Linked DNA regions of Homo sapiens: regions 1 and 2 are each linked to region 3. Evidence: promoter capture Hi-C in 16 types of primary human blood cells and fetal thymus (Javierre and others, 2016). All regions are on one chromosome and are shown on one strand. The core of a region is centred on a gene start or on the middle of the fragment in contact, and the rest is flanking DNA. Distances in the headings are between cores, read along the strand shown. Region 1 overlaps KLHL22 (kelch like family member 22). Region 2 overlaps ZDHHC8 (zDHHC palmitoyltransferase 8). Region 3 holds the start of RTN4R (reticulon 4 receptor).

Region 1 (4,402 bases), core at 313-2,812, 190 kb after region 3:
TCCAAAGAGGCTTCCTTCTCCCCAAAGAAGCTGAGAGCAAGGAGCAGGCCACAGCTTGCAGCTCACAGCTGCCCAAGAGACAGAAATCTGTGTGGGCTGTGTGAATGACCTGGATAAAGAAGAGCTGGATCCATTGAGGAGACACTAGCCCTGACCCCTGAAGTCAAAGTCTAAGTCCCTGGGGGAATTGGGGGTCATGAGAGATACTGGAAAGAGGCTTACAAAGGCCAGAGCTCTTGCTAAACTCCCTGAGGCAGTGCAGGTAGAACCTGCCCCCCATACCATCCTCTGCCTCTCAGGTGCTCGGTTATCCCCAAAGGTGTACCTGGCCCATAGCAGGTGCTCCACAAATGCTATGCCAGTACTAGCGGGGTGCCCTGCTAGGGTACCCCTAGTACTGCTAGGGTATGCCCTGTTCTCGGAGGCTGAGACCCAGGAAGTAGGGGGCCAGCAAGGCCTGTTCCTTCCCTGGGATCCCATGTCTGGTTGTTACACCAGGCCTGAGTACCCCAAAGTCGTAAGATAAAAGAGAGGCACCTCCCTAAAACATCATTTTTCCATAATGAACATAATTTTAAACATCTTCAAATTGGAATAAACCAAGGTATTATATAGGATGCACGTGATTTTTTTTTCAAGTTGTCCCAATATTCAAACATAGGATTTAATATAAAAAATAAAACCTTAGAGTGTTTCTTGGCTCTGGAAGGCGCCACCCTTCAGGGGACCTAGAGGGAAGAGGTCTGAGGATAGGCCAGTGAGCTCTCAGGGTCCCTTCCTGTTTAACATCTCTGGAAGTGTCCCAGCTCGTCTCAGCTGCACAAAGAGCAAATGTTCTATCCACATTTGAACTACAAGGTTTAAGCAGCTTGCCAGGGCCAAGGTGGTGTGACAAGGTCTCAGCATGTAAGACTCACAAGTGGGGCACAATTCTGAGCAATGGGGTCTGGATCCTTGATGAGCCTCCCCAGGTGGACTGGCTGAACCTCATGGGGCCTCATCAATGCATTCAATGCAGGGTCTCTGGAGAAGCATGGATTCTGCTCACTGAGCCTGTTTCTCTGACCTGGGACAGGCCTTGACACCTAGGCCTCTCACTCTTTGCACATCCTGGGGAAGGAAATTAGGCAGGAGAAGGCCCCTCTTCGAGGGCTTCCTTACCTCCCTCTTGAGTGGGGCCACGTATGCCCAGGAGTTGGTGGCAGGGTCGTAGCGCTCCACAGCATTCAGGTCATTGTGGTAGTCACGGCCCGCCACAGCGTAGATGTACCTGCCTACAACACACACGGACAGGTCGGCGTGCTCCTGCTGCAGGGACTGGATCTGGAACCAGCGGTTGTGCCGTGGGTCATACCTGTGCCGAGACATGAGGAAAGCACAGCACTGACTAGGCAGGGAGGCTGCTCCGCAGGCTTGCACCTCTTGTTCTGGTCCCATTTCTGCTTTGCCTCAGCCCAGCCTGAACCCTCCCCAACTACCCCACATACCAGTGCACACCGATCTACAGCCAGGCCCACAGGCTGTTACACACCTGAGCACAGGTGCTCCCCACCACACAGCATGGAAGGAATGGCCAGGAGCCTCCTGTGTTTCCACCTAACTGTCCACCTGGGCTGTCCAATGGCTCTTTTTTTTTTTTTTTTTTTTTTTTTGTGGAGAGAGGTCTCTCTGTCCCCTAGGCTGAAGTGCAGTGGCACAATCATGGCTCACTGTAGCCTCGACCTCCTGGGCTTAAGTGATCCTACCACCTCAGTCTCCTAAGTAGCTGGGACTACAGGTGCGCACCACAACGCCCGCTATTTTTTTTTTTTTTTTTTTTTTTGATAGAGACAAGGTCTTGACACCTGGGATATGGACTTAGGCAATCCTCCTGCCTCAGCCTCAATGGCTGTTCGTACAGCCACTTCCATCTCACTTACCTCATCTCATCATCCACATAGCCTTGCTCCCACTCAGGAGGGCCTCCAAATACAGCCTCTCCACTGGATGGGTGCCATCAGCCCCCTCATTGGCCTCCAAGCCTTGAACTTCCCCCAGCACTCCATCAGGAGTGGTCTTCTCAGGCACGCCCTGCACACAGCACCCATCATACCCTCAGCTTTGTCAACAGCCGCACACACAAGGCTCTGGTCATCGTACTTTCACCTCCTCCCACCATGCTGCCAGCCCCGCGTTTCCTGACCTCCCCTCCACTCAAGGTCTCCCTCTCTGGGAAAGTGGAAAGGGTTAACTCCCACCCTGGACTGCAGGCTCTGTAAGGGCAGGGTGTGTGAGATTCCAGGGACCCCCATGGGAGAAAAGGCACTAGACTGGTTGCGGCAGGCCCACGAGGGTGGAGGAGTCTGGCCAGGACCCAAGGAGGGCTCCTGGGCTGAGCACCAACAGGGAGCATGGCCTGCAATGTGGAGCAGAGATGATCACAGAGCCATGAGGGGCCAGGACCCAGTGAGCTCAAAGCCAGTATCTGAAGTGTCCTTGCCCAACAGCCCACAGATAGTTACAGCCTCTTTCAGACAAGTGTTTTTATTTCTGCAGAGGAAGACCTATTCCAAAGAGAACAAGTCTAACTTCAACTGGCTCACAAGAGAGTAACCAAAGTTTTCTTTGGCCTGTGCCCTATGCTGGTTAGTGAAAAGATCAGTTTCATCCTTTGCTTCCTGCAGCCCCTGCAGTGTGGCCAGCCCCTCCCCGCCGCCTACCAGGAATGCAGCAAACAGGAGCCTCAGAAGGCAGGGCCAACAAGAGAGGGAACACACACCTGGGTCTCCCTGACCTGGTGTGAATCCTGGGCTCTTCCCTGTCTAGCTGGGTGTGCCTGGGCATCAGTTTTAATCTCTTGGGATTCGCTCAGTTCTGCACCTGTCCAATGAGGTGATATCACCTGCCTAGAAAAGCTATCAAGAAGAATCATAAAAGACGAGCATGAAAAGTGTCCTTGTTAACTTGGGGGTTCTGATGGATCATGGTTCATTTCTATATTCCTAGACCTCAGTGTAGCCTCTGGCTCAGGACAGATTATGTTCTGTCTGCTGAATGAATTAAACAAAGGAGTAAGATTACCAGCAATGAATCATTCATTCACTCTACCAACATTCCCAGGTCTCCCACTGTGGATGGGGCACAGTGCTCAGCACTACATCCAGAGGGAGCCTCAAGAGGTCAGGGCCCTGCCTTCCCCTGCAGAATGGAAACAGGCTAACCAGAGCAAATGAGTGCTTAATATAATGACAGACACTGTGAAAGAAAGAAAGGGAGGTAAGAAGATGAGTGACCTGCTGGTCAGCGGGGCCTGGGGAGGGCAGAGCTCCCTTGCAGTGATCAGGAAAGGCCTCCTGAGAAGGCAGGGTCTGAGACCTGCATGACCTGGGGCACAAGCCAGAAGAAGGTCTGGCAGGGGACCAGCAGTCCAGGATTGGGGCACAGCACTCACAGGGGCCCCGTCAACTGGCTGGGATGGTGCTGTTCACTGCCTTTCCTGTGCGCCTTCCTCCTTTATATACAAGTCTCTCCTCTCTTGTGTTCAGTCTGGCTCAATCACCATCTGCACCCCAAGTGTCTGCAACCAGAGTGAGATAGGACCCTCCATGTGCTCCTGTTTGCTCCTTCGAGTCTATTGTCCTCACAGCTTTTTAAGCTGAGTTCATGTGGATTTGTGGCTTCAAATTTAAAGACACACACAGGGCCGGGCGTGGTGGCTCACGCCTGTAATCCCAGAACTTTGGGAGGCTGAGGCGGGTGGATCACGAGGTCAGGAGTTCAAGACCAGACTGTCCAATATGGTGAAACCCCGTCTCCACTAAAAATATAAAAAAATTAGCCAGGCATGGTGGTGTGTGGCTGTAGTTCCAGCTACTCGGGAGGCTGAGGCAGGAGAATCACTTGAACCCGGGAGGCAGAAGTTGCAGTGAGCTGAGATCATGCCATTGCACTCCAGCCTGGGCGACAGAGTGAAACTCCATCCCCCAAAAAAAAAAAAAAAAAAAAAAAAAAAAAAAAAAAAAGACACCAACAGTGATACCATATGTCAATAATTTAGACATAGCCAAAGTTACACTGATTTCTTATTTCCCTGTTGTGTCCTGTATCCCTCTTCTTCTTTATTGAATTAATTTTCTACTTTATGAGAATAAGTCCTCAAGTAATATTTTTCTAATAAAAATAAGCTTTATTTTTGCATATAAAGATATAAACAATTTTACTTATTGCTATGGACTAGATGTTTGGATTCCCCCAAAACCCCTATGTTGAAGGCCTAACCCCCATTGTGATGGTAGTGGGAGGCATGGCCTTTGGGAGGTGATCAGGTCATGAGGGTGGAGCCCCATGATGGGCTTAGTGCCCGAGGCTACAGCTCTTTCTCTCCACCATGTGAGAACACAGACGGAAAGGACCTTACCGGGAC
Region 2 (4,162 bases), core at 1,486-3,985, 130 kb before region 3:
ACTACAGAGAGGACAGTTGCCTCACTCTGGAGGACTGGAGGAGTGGGCAGCAGCTCAGGTCCCAGTCAGAGAACCCACAACAAGCCTCCCCAACCCCTGGATTAGGGCCCATATGGGCCCTCACAGGCATGTGGCAGGTACCCGCACTGGGCAGGAGGGACCCGGTCACACTGCAGATTTCCCAAAGTAGCCCCACGGCTGCAAGGCTGCTGTCCAGCCCGCCTGGTGTGGGGGAGTCCAGGCTCAGGGAGGACACAGCAGTACCGCCTGCTTGGGCTGGCAGGGAGCTCAAGTCAGCATGGGGTTCAGGCCCCGCCTGCCTGATGGGCGAACACACCCCCAAGGCCCCCGTTAGGGCCAGGAGGCAGGCTGGCAGCCAGCGCAGGTGCAGAGGGGCCCCGAGGCTTCCATCCTGAGGTCAGCACTGGGAGGACAGAGGCTGCCTCCTTGCAGCCCGAGGGTTGACCAATGGCACTCGCCGCATCCCTTCCCAGAGCAGGCCAGCCCCACGGGCATCATGAGGGCCTGCGTTTGGTTTAATGCTCCGCTGTCAACATCTTGAAATTCTCTGTAATTTTTAAATAAGGGGCCCGCAGTTTCATTTTGCACAGACTATGTAGCCAGCCTTCCCCAGAAGGCTCGTGGAGAGCTCCACAGGCCCTGCCTCTCCCTGGGGGAGCTGCTCACCTGCCTGTGCCCATCTTGTTGGGCCGACCCTGCCTTAGGGGCCTGTGGTCCTGGCTGAATGGCGTTGCATTGGAGGCCAGGCACATGTTTGAGTGCTGCCTGTGTGCCAGGCAGGGCTGGGGAGGGTGGAAGGAAGCCTGGGGGCTGAGCCACTGGGCAGGGACAGGGAGAGCCCTCCCAGCAGAGGGAGGTGTGGCCGCAGCTGTGTCCTCACCCTGGTGTCTACCTCCACGGGCTGGGCCCTGGACAAGAGGAAGGGTAACTTGGGCTCCCAGCCCCGCCGAGGATGGCTGTCGTGGGAAGCGGAGTCTTTAAATAGCCTCTTGCTTTCCACTAAAAATAGTGAAGCTCTGCTGCCGTGGAGGTGGTTGCCGGGGCGGCGGGGCTGGCTCTTGGCCAGGCGGGCGTGGGTGCAGCAGCGTGGCCACGTGCGCTGGAGTGGTAGGCAGCGCGTGGGCCCCATCCACTGCTAGTGGCCATAGAGGTCAGGGCTGCTGTGGGGGATCCCCACTAGCCCCCCGACTATGCAGAGGGCCTGGGTGCAGGGAGGGACGCAAACCCCTGTGTTCCTGTCCCTGCTGCTTGTCACAGCAGCTGTCTCAGGGTGCGCAGGGGAGAGACAAGGAGCCTGAGGCCAGAGGGGCTTCTTGGAAGCTGAGTGGGTGGATTTAGGAACCCGCTGCAGGCCGTGTGGCCCGAGGACCGGCAAGTCTCTTCAGAGGGGACTCGGGCCAGGCCCGTTAAGGGCTGAGGAAGGCGCCTTTCAGGAAGGTGTGTGAGGGCACACCTTATAGGGAAGCTGCAGAGGGCAGCCTGGAGTCCTGGAAAGCTTCCCGGAAGAGGGGGTGGCCTTGGAGCCAAGTGCTGATGGCTGGGAAGATGGGAAGTGGTGGGGGGTGTTGTGCATTCTAGAGTCCCTAAGTGTTCTACTTTGTCATCTGGGGAGGGAGGTGACAAACTAAAAAGAAGGGGCTGTCTGGATGGGGATGTGCCTGACTGGGAAGAGTAGGGGAGACATGCCCCATGCACTTACTGACCAAGGACTGGGGCTCCCCACACCCCAGAATCTGCCTGGTGAGAGGCCCCACTGGGCCAGGGACAGGCCTGGATGAGGCATCGTGGCGCATTTTCCATCTGGGGCTCCCACCTCCAGCCTGTGTACCGCCCCCGCCCCCTACCCCGCCCCAGTCATGGAGCCTAGGTCGCTGGAATGGGGTGACCTTAGGTCTGTGGGCCTCTCTGAGACGGCTGCCCTGAGAGGTTGCCGGGTCAGGGCACGGGTAGCCCACATGCTGTACTGATACGCACAGCCTCTGGCCGTTACTCGAAGGAGCGATGTGGCTGAGGTTTCTTGGCAGGGCTGTGGCAGCCTCCCCACTGCCTCTGAGCTCTGAGGGTGACCTTGCAGGCCCAGCCTGCCGCACCACATAGCTCTGCGCCTGCATCCGCTCTGCACCCCCAGACTCCACTCTCTGCCCCCACTGTCTACTGCAGGTGCCCGTGGTTGACACGAGCTGTGTCCCCAGCTGTTCCCGTCTACAATGGCATCATCTTCCTCTTTGTCCTGGCCAACTTCAGCATGGCCACTTTCATGGACCCTGGTGTTTTCCCCCGAGGTAGGGCCCTGTGCTGCGGCAGCTCCTCTCACTTTCACTAGAGTGTGAGTGGCTAACTTGAGACAGCCTTAGGGATTCCTGGTGGGTGGGCTGGACTTGGGGGAGGGATTCACCTGCCAGGAAAGTCAACTTCCTGCTCACTGCCTGGCTCCTGGTCTGTAGCGGATGAGGATGAGGACAAGGAGGACGACTTCCGGGCTCCGCTGTACAAGAACGTGGATGTGCGAGGTATCCAGGTCCGCATGAAGTGGTGTGCCACGTGCCACTTCTACCGCCCGCCGCGCTGCTCCCACTGCAGCGTCTGTGACAACTGTGTAGAGGTGACCGCCCTGCTGCCCCGCGCTCCCCCAGCCCTGTGCCACATCCCTGCCTGCCATGTGCCCTGATGCACTGCTCCCGCCCAGGACTTTGACCACCACTGCCCCTGGGTCAACAACTGCATCGGGCGTCGAAACTATCGCTACTTCTTCCTGTTCCTGCTGTCACTCAGTGCACACATGGTGGGCGTCGTGGCCTTCGGCCTGGTCTACGTGCTGAACCACGCTGAGGGGCTGGGAGCCGCGCACACCACCATCACGTATCCTTGGTTCCTGTGGGCCTCATTGCAGAGGCGATGTGGACCGGGGACACGTTCACCAGGGAGATTGAGCCTCAGAAGGCTTGGTTCCTGCCCAGGGATCCCCAGTGGGCAGGTGGCCGTCCCTAGGTTGGGAGGAGGTTTGTCCACAGGCACCTGCTCTGTGCTGCTGCGATGGGGTCTGCGGTGTCCTGGCCTGCACCGTTGGCCTTAACGGGCTAGCATGGCTGTCATGTGTGTGGCCGGCCTCTTCTTCATCCCTGTCATTGGCCTCACTGGCTTCCATGTGGTGCTGGTCACTCGGGGGCGCACCACCAACGAGCAGGTGCAGACCCCATGGGGGATGGGTGGCCCCAAAGGGCCGAGAGAGTTGGGGCTGCATGGGGACAGGGTGGGGGCTGGGGCACCCTTGCCTGAGGTAGCTTGTGCAGCTGTGTTGAGACGAGGCTCCAACTCTGAGACCCCCACGTGGGGCTACGCCTGCCCCGTCCCCTGCGCACATCCTGCCTGTGGACACTGTGGCCACCAGTGACCCAGAAATCCCACAGCTCCCTGCAAGTTCAGGCTGGGTAACCTATGTGAGGGGCAGCCCTGGGCTGATCCCACCTAAGCCACTTCCCGCAAGTATCAGCTTCTAAGGAACCCCAGCTCCCTTGCCCAGCCCCCTGCCCACCCTGGCCTGGACCTTGGGAGGCCAGGCTGGCTGAGGGTCCTGCATCCACAGGTGACTGGGAAGTTCCGCGGGGGTGTGAACCCTTTCACCCGAGGCTGCTGTGGGAATGTGGAGCACGTGCTGTGTAGCCCCCTGGCGCCCCGGTGAGGCCCGGCCTGGGCAGGGTGGAGGGGGGCCTCTGCTGGGTGTGGGGCGGGCAGCCTTAGACCCTCTTGGTCCGTTTGGCTCTTGCCAGGTATGGCCAGCCCTGCCCTTGTGTGTTTGTGGCAGGTGGGCTGGCTACTGACCCCTGTGCCCTGGTGCAGGTACGTGGTGGAGCCACCCCGGCTGCCGCTCGCGGTGAGTTTGAAGCCGCCTTTCCTTAGGCCTGAACTCCTGGACCGAGCTGCACCGCTCAAGGTCAAGCTTAGTGACAACGGGCTGAAGGCTGGCCTGGGCCGTAGCAAGGTGGGCGCCTGGGCTTAGGGATGGGCTGGCAGTCAGGCCCTTGGATGGGGAAACAGGCAGGTTGGTGGGGGCCTAGAAGAGGTGGATGGGGCAGACAGAGCCGTAGACAGATTCTTGGGAGGGGGCTAGGTCCCAGGCTGAATCCCTAGTGAAGCCCTGCCC
Region 3 (3,834 bases), core at 682-3,181:
TCTGCTCAGCACCCTACACAACACCGGAGGTAGGGGAGCCCACCACAGAACCCCTCACCAAGAAGGTCCTCACCATGGAGAAACTGAGGCACTGGAGGCGGGGCCTCTGCAGTCACGCTGGGTCACGTGCTCCAGTCAGCCAAGCTGCAGCGGCCACCAAGGGTGCCCAGGGTCTGGCCTGTTGGTCACAGTGTTGACCTCATGGCCTGAAATGGGTCTTCCCTGCCCAGACAGGTTCCAGCCCACCATCATCTATCTGCCTCAGCCCTGGTGGGTAGGGAGTGGCTGGGAGACCCTGCCCCTCACACCCTGGGCTTTGCGGTATTCAACGAGCCCCCAACACACATTCCAGGGCCTCTGCTCCAGATTAGGCCACAGCCTGTCTAGGCACACAAGGGGCACCCACACCCTGGAGGCAAAGAGACATGCCTATGTGCCCGCAGGCACACATGATCACGCGCACAGACACACGTGCAGATGCATACCAAGTTACACACACGCACACAAGCCCGAGGCGGGGACCCCCAGGACACGGAGGCAGGCAGGCAGAGGTGGGGCCCAGGATGTCTTGCCCCTGTCTGTGGGCCTGGCCTCCCCACTCAACAGACGAGCATGTGGGTGCGGGAGTGGTTATTGCGAAAGGGGCCCCAGCATGTGCCACCCGTGGAGACCACAGCAGGCATGCCGCGTGCATGCATGTGTGGCCGTGGGTGTGCAGGCGGGGGCGAGGACACAGATATGCACCCTCAGAGTCCGTGTGTGCACCCAGTGTTTGTGCATGTGCACACTGGGGCGGCGTTGGCTTGCATGTGCACCAGAGGTGTGCAAGTGTGCAGTCCGTGTAGACAAGTGCACGTGCAAGGAAACGTGTGTGCAGCCTGCGGCACCATGGACATCAGCAGGGCAGCCTGGGTGGGCACCTGGGGAGCACCCTCCAGGCGGGGCATGCCCAACTCACATGGAGCCCACCCTCCCTTGCCCGCACCGCGGGACCTCACAGCCGGTGGGGCGGGGGAGTCCCACGAGGGCTGCTAGGGAGGGGTTGCTGATTGCCCCACCGCCCCTGATTCCCCCAGCCAAGCCTCTCAATGTCCCTCGGGCTGCAGATGGCGGGCGTTGCTGCCTCCTCTCACCGCCCGCCCTGGAGGCAGCGCTGGGACAACCCTGTCCCCCACGCCCTCTACTGCCGCCAACGCCCCCATTCATCCCACTGTGGACTGACCTCGGAGAAACGGGAGGTTCTGAGCCCAGACCGTGAGGCTGGGGTGGAGGCGGCCCGACACCCCCACCCACCCTCGGTACCCACGTTTCTGCAAAAACCCGCTCGTTAACCCCTTGGTGGCCGGGGCGCTCCGAGGCCGGGCCCCGCCCTTCCAGCCCACGGCCCCCGCCCTCGACTTGGCCCAGCATCGGGGACCCTCGGACCGCCACCCTCGGCCCTGCCGAAGCCGTCAACTTTCCCGGGAAGCGGCAACTTTTCCTGCCGCCTCCGGCTCCGCCCTCCCGGGGCCGGGGCGCCAGCGGCCCCAGCCTGGCGCGGCACTGCGGTGGCTTTCCCTGCCGCCCGGCTACGCTTCCCTCGCCTCGGCAGCCCGGGACGGGCCCTGCGGCTCCGGGGAGGGGGCGAGCCGCCCCCCTCCGCGCCCCGCCGCCGGCCGGGCTCGGGTGCAGCGCGGACACTCACCTCCAGCGGACGCCCTCTTCATCGTAGGGGTTGGGCGGGGCGCGTCGGGGACTGAAAGTCGTTTCGGGGCGGGCGCCCGTCTCCCCGCGGCCGGGTCCGCATCCAGGCGCCGCCGCTACGGCCCGGCCCCGGCCCGGCCGCGGGACGAGGCTCGGCGCGCTCCGCTCCGCCCGGCTCTGGCTGGGCTCGGGCCGCGGGTGCGCAGGGCGCGCAGGGCGCACAGGGCGAGGGCGGCGGCGGCGCGGGGGTTGGGGCGTGGGCGGCGCGGCGGGCCGGGGCGCGCAGGCCGGGCCGCAGGAGGCGCTCAGCCCGCCCGGTGCACCGGCGCCGCGCGGTCCCAGACAAAGGCGGCGCATTCCTGAAGAGGCGGCGGCCCCTGCAGGCGGCGGAGGGGATGGCGGCCCGGGCCGGAGCCGGCCGGGGACGCGGGCCCGAGGGTGTGGCGGCCTAGGCTGGCCCGGTCCCCAAGCGGGCAAGGGCTTTGTCCCGAGGCCTAGGAATGGCCTCTGCCTGACCCACTCCCTTCCTGGCCTCACGAAACCCATGAATCCCCCGCCCCCTGCACAGAAGCCCCTTGCTGCAGCACGATCGCCCCCATTTTTCAGTAAGAAACAGGCTCAGGGCTTAAGAGAGTTCTGGGGGCCCTCCTGGGCCTTTGTGGCCCTCTCTGCACCATCCTAGAGAAGGGACCTAGGCCTGATGTTACCCGTAACCCTGCAGGGGTCCCCCACCTCTTCCCTTCTGCGGAATGGGGGCTCCAAACCCAGAAGACGCTCTCCGAGGTCACCTGCTTAGTATCCCCCCACTCTACCAAGCCAGCCCCCCACGGGCGGTGTGAGGCATGGGGCCAGAGAATCCAGTGACGCCCCTGCACACACCACACAGGGGTGCAGGTGTCCCTTCTCAATCTTCTGCTCGGGGCACCTACCGGGCCTCACCGATGAGCTCCTAAGTGCATCCCGGGGTCTTCAGACAACTGCCAGGCTGCCCCTGCACCTGGAGAAGTGCTGGGAGTCAGCTCAGCCGGGCTGGGTCCTCCCCAGGCCCACCCTGCATGAGAGGACCATGCAGATGAGGGTCTTGCAGGCCCACCTGGTGTCAGTCTGTAGGACCCTGACTCAAGGACGGAGTGGGCCAGCCTGATGCCTTGATGGCCCCCCTCAGAGCCCAGGTCCACTGATATGAAGCAGAGAGACCTGGTGACTGGGCACCCCTGTGCCCTCTGCCTGCCCCTGGCCATGGAGGTGGCCCTGAGGGAGATGAGCAGGGCGCAGGGCCGGTGACCTGCCTGCCTTGTGCAGAGGAAGTGAGGACCTCCCAGAGCCCTGGTGCTCCCATCTGATCCCAGTGGCAGGCAGCTTCGCAGGGTGGAGCCATGCTGGGTGGGCCCTCTGCCTGGTGTGGAGGCTGCACTGCCCACATGCCTCTGGCTGCCGCTCTGTGGCCCTCATCACTTTGGCCTGCTTTATCCCTATCACCCTTGTCCCAGCCTAGGCTTATGAGGGCATTGTGGAGTGCATGCCATTCCCAGCCACACAGAAGGTGAGGTGGGGCCCAGACACCCCCAGCCACTCTGTCCCCTGGCCTCCTGAAGGGGTGGGCTGTGCACACACTGCCACCTCCCCAGAGGGTGCTGGCTGCCGAGTGCCACCAGCTCAGCCCCTGAGGTGGCTCAACAGGTCCTCCCAGAGCCACACCAAGACGTCATCACCCATTGCACAGATAGGGAACCTCAGGCGAAGCTCACAGAGCCAGTGGGAGGCTGAGGCCTGACCCCCAGACAAGCATTCTTCTCCAGGGTCCCTGCACACAGCAGCCCCCAGGCTAGGAACTGAGCTCTCTCCACAGGGATGTATCAGACCCTAGATGAGTCACGTGGCACTGACCATCAGTCTGAGGACAGCGCTGGGGTGGACCAGGCTCCAGTCTCGGGCTGCTCTGTGCTTGCAGAAAGGCCTTGAGAGGACACTTGCTTGCTTACTCCGCAGGCGTCTCTTCAATTACCAGTGACCCAGAGCAGCCCACTATAGCTGAAGATTGTGACCCCACACCCTATCTCATAGGTTTAAAGCCCCTCCCACCCCTCCTGCCGCAGCCGAAGTGACCATTCTGGGGCATGGGATGGGCATGGGGTGAAATGGGGAGCAGGG

The links. Contacts are between HindIII fragments. The CHiCAGO score rates a contact against its expected background, and 5 or more counts as called.
Region 1: a fragment that was not itself captured here is called in contact with the fragment with the promoter of RTN4R in region 3 in 5 of 17 cell types (M0 macrophages, total CD4 T cells, M2 macrophages and 2 more); the score reaches 8.1 in M0 macrophages.
Region 2: a contact is called between a fragment that was not itself captured here and the fragment with the promoter of RTN4R in region 3, in 4 of 17 cell types (M0 macrophages, M1 macrophages, fetal thymus and 1 more). The highest score is 8.5, in M0 macrophages.

The regions. Positions count from the first base shown.
Region 1 is chr22:20,456,647-20,461,048 of GRCh38, forward strand. It overlaps KLHL22 (kelch like family member 22), which reads right to left. Exons shown (of 7, transcript NM_032775.4): 5 at 1,162-1,354. LOC124905085 (a long non-coding RNA gene) reads left to right here and starts at 4,329. Exons shown (of 3, transcript XR_007068014.1): 1 at 4,329-4,402. RefSeq lists an enhancer at 1-119 and a silencer at 3,084-3,282. The HindIII fragment of the contact is 5,197 bases long and covers 1-4,161 here.
Region 2 is chr22:20,137,013-20,141,174 of GRCh38, forward strand. It overlaps ZDHHC8 (zDHHC palmitoyltransferase 8), which reads left to right. Exons shown (of 11, transcript NM_013373.4): 2 at 2,182-2,303; 3 at 2,466-2,623; 4 at 2,708-2,880; 5 at 3,103-3,205; 6 at 3,605-3,696; 7 at 3,859-4,000. Among named protein-coding and RNA genes, the nearest start is that of ZDHHC8, 7.3 kb to the left of the region's middle. RefSeq lists an enhancer at 572-1,171. The HindIII fragment of the contact is 2,442 bases long and covers 1,515-3,956 here.
Region 3 is chr22:20,266,387-20,270,220 of GRCh38, forward strand. It overlaps RTN4R (reticulon 4 receptor), which reads right to left and starts at 1,932. Exons shown (of 2, transcript NM_023004.6): 1 at 1,685-1,932. The coding sequence starts at 1,706. RefSeq lists an enhancer at 776-1,464 and silencers at 1,676-1,835, 1,926-2,085, 2,136-2,195. The HindIII fragment of the contact is 20,492 bases long and covers 1-3,834 here.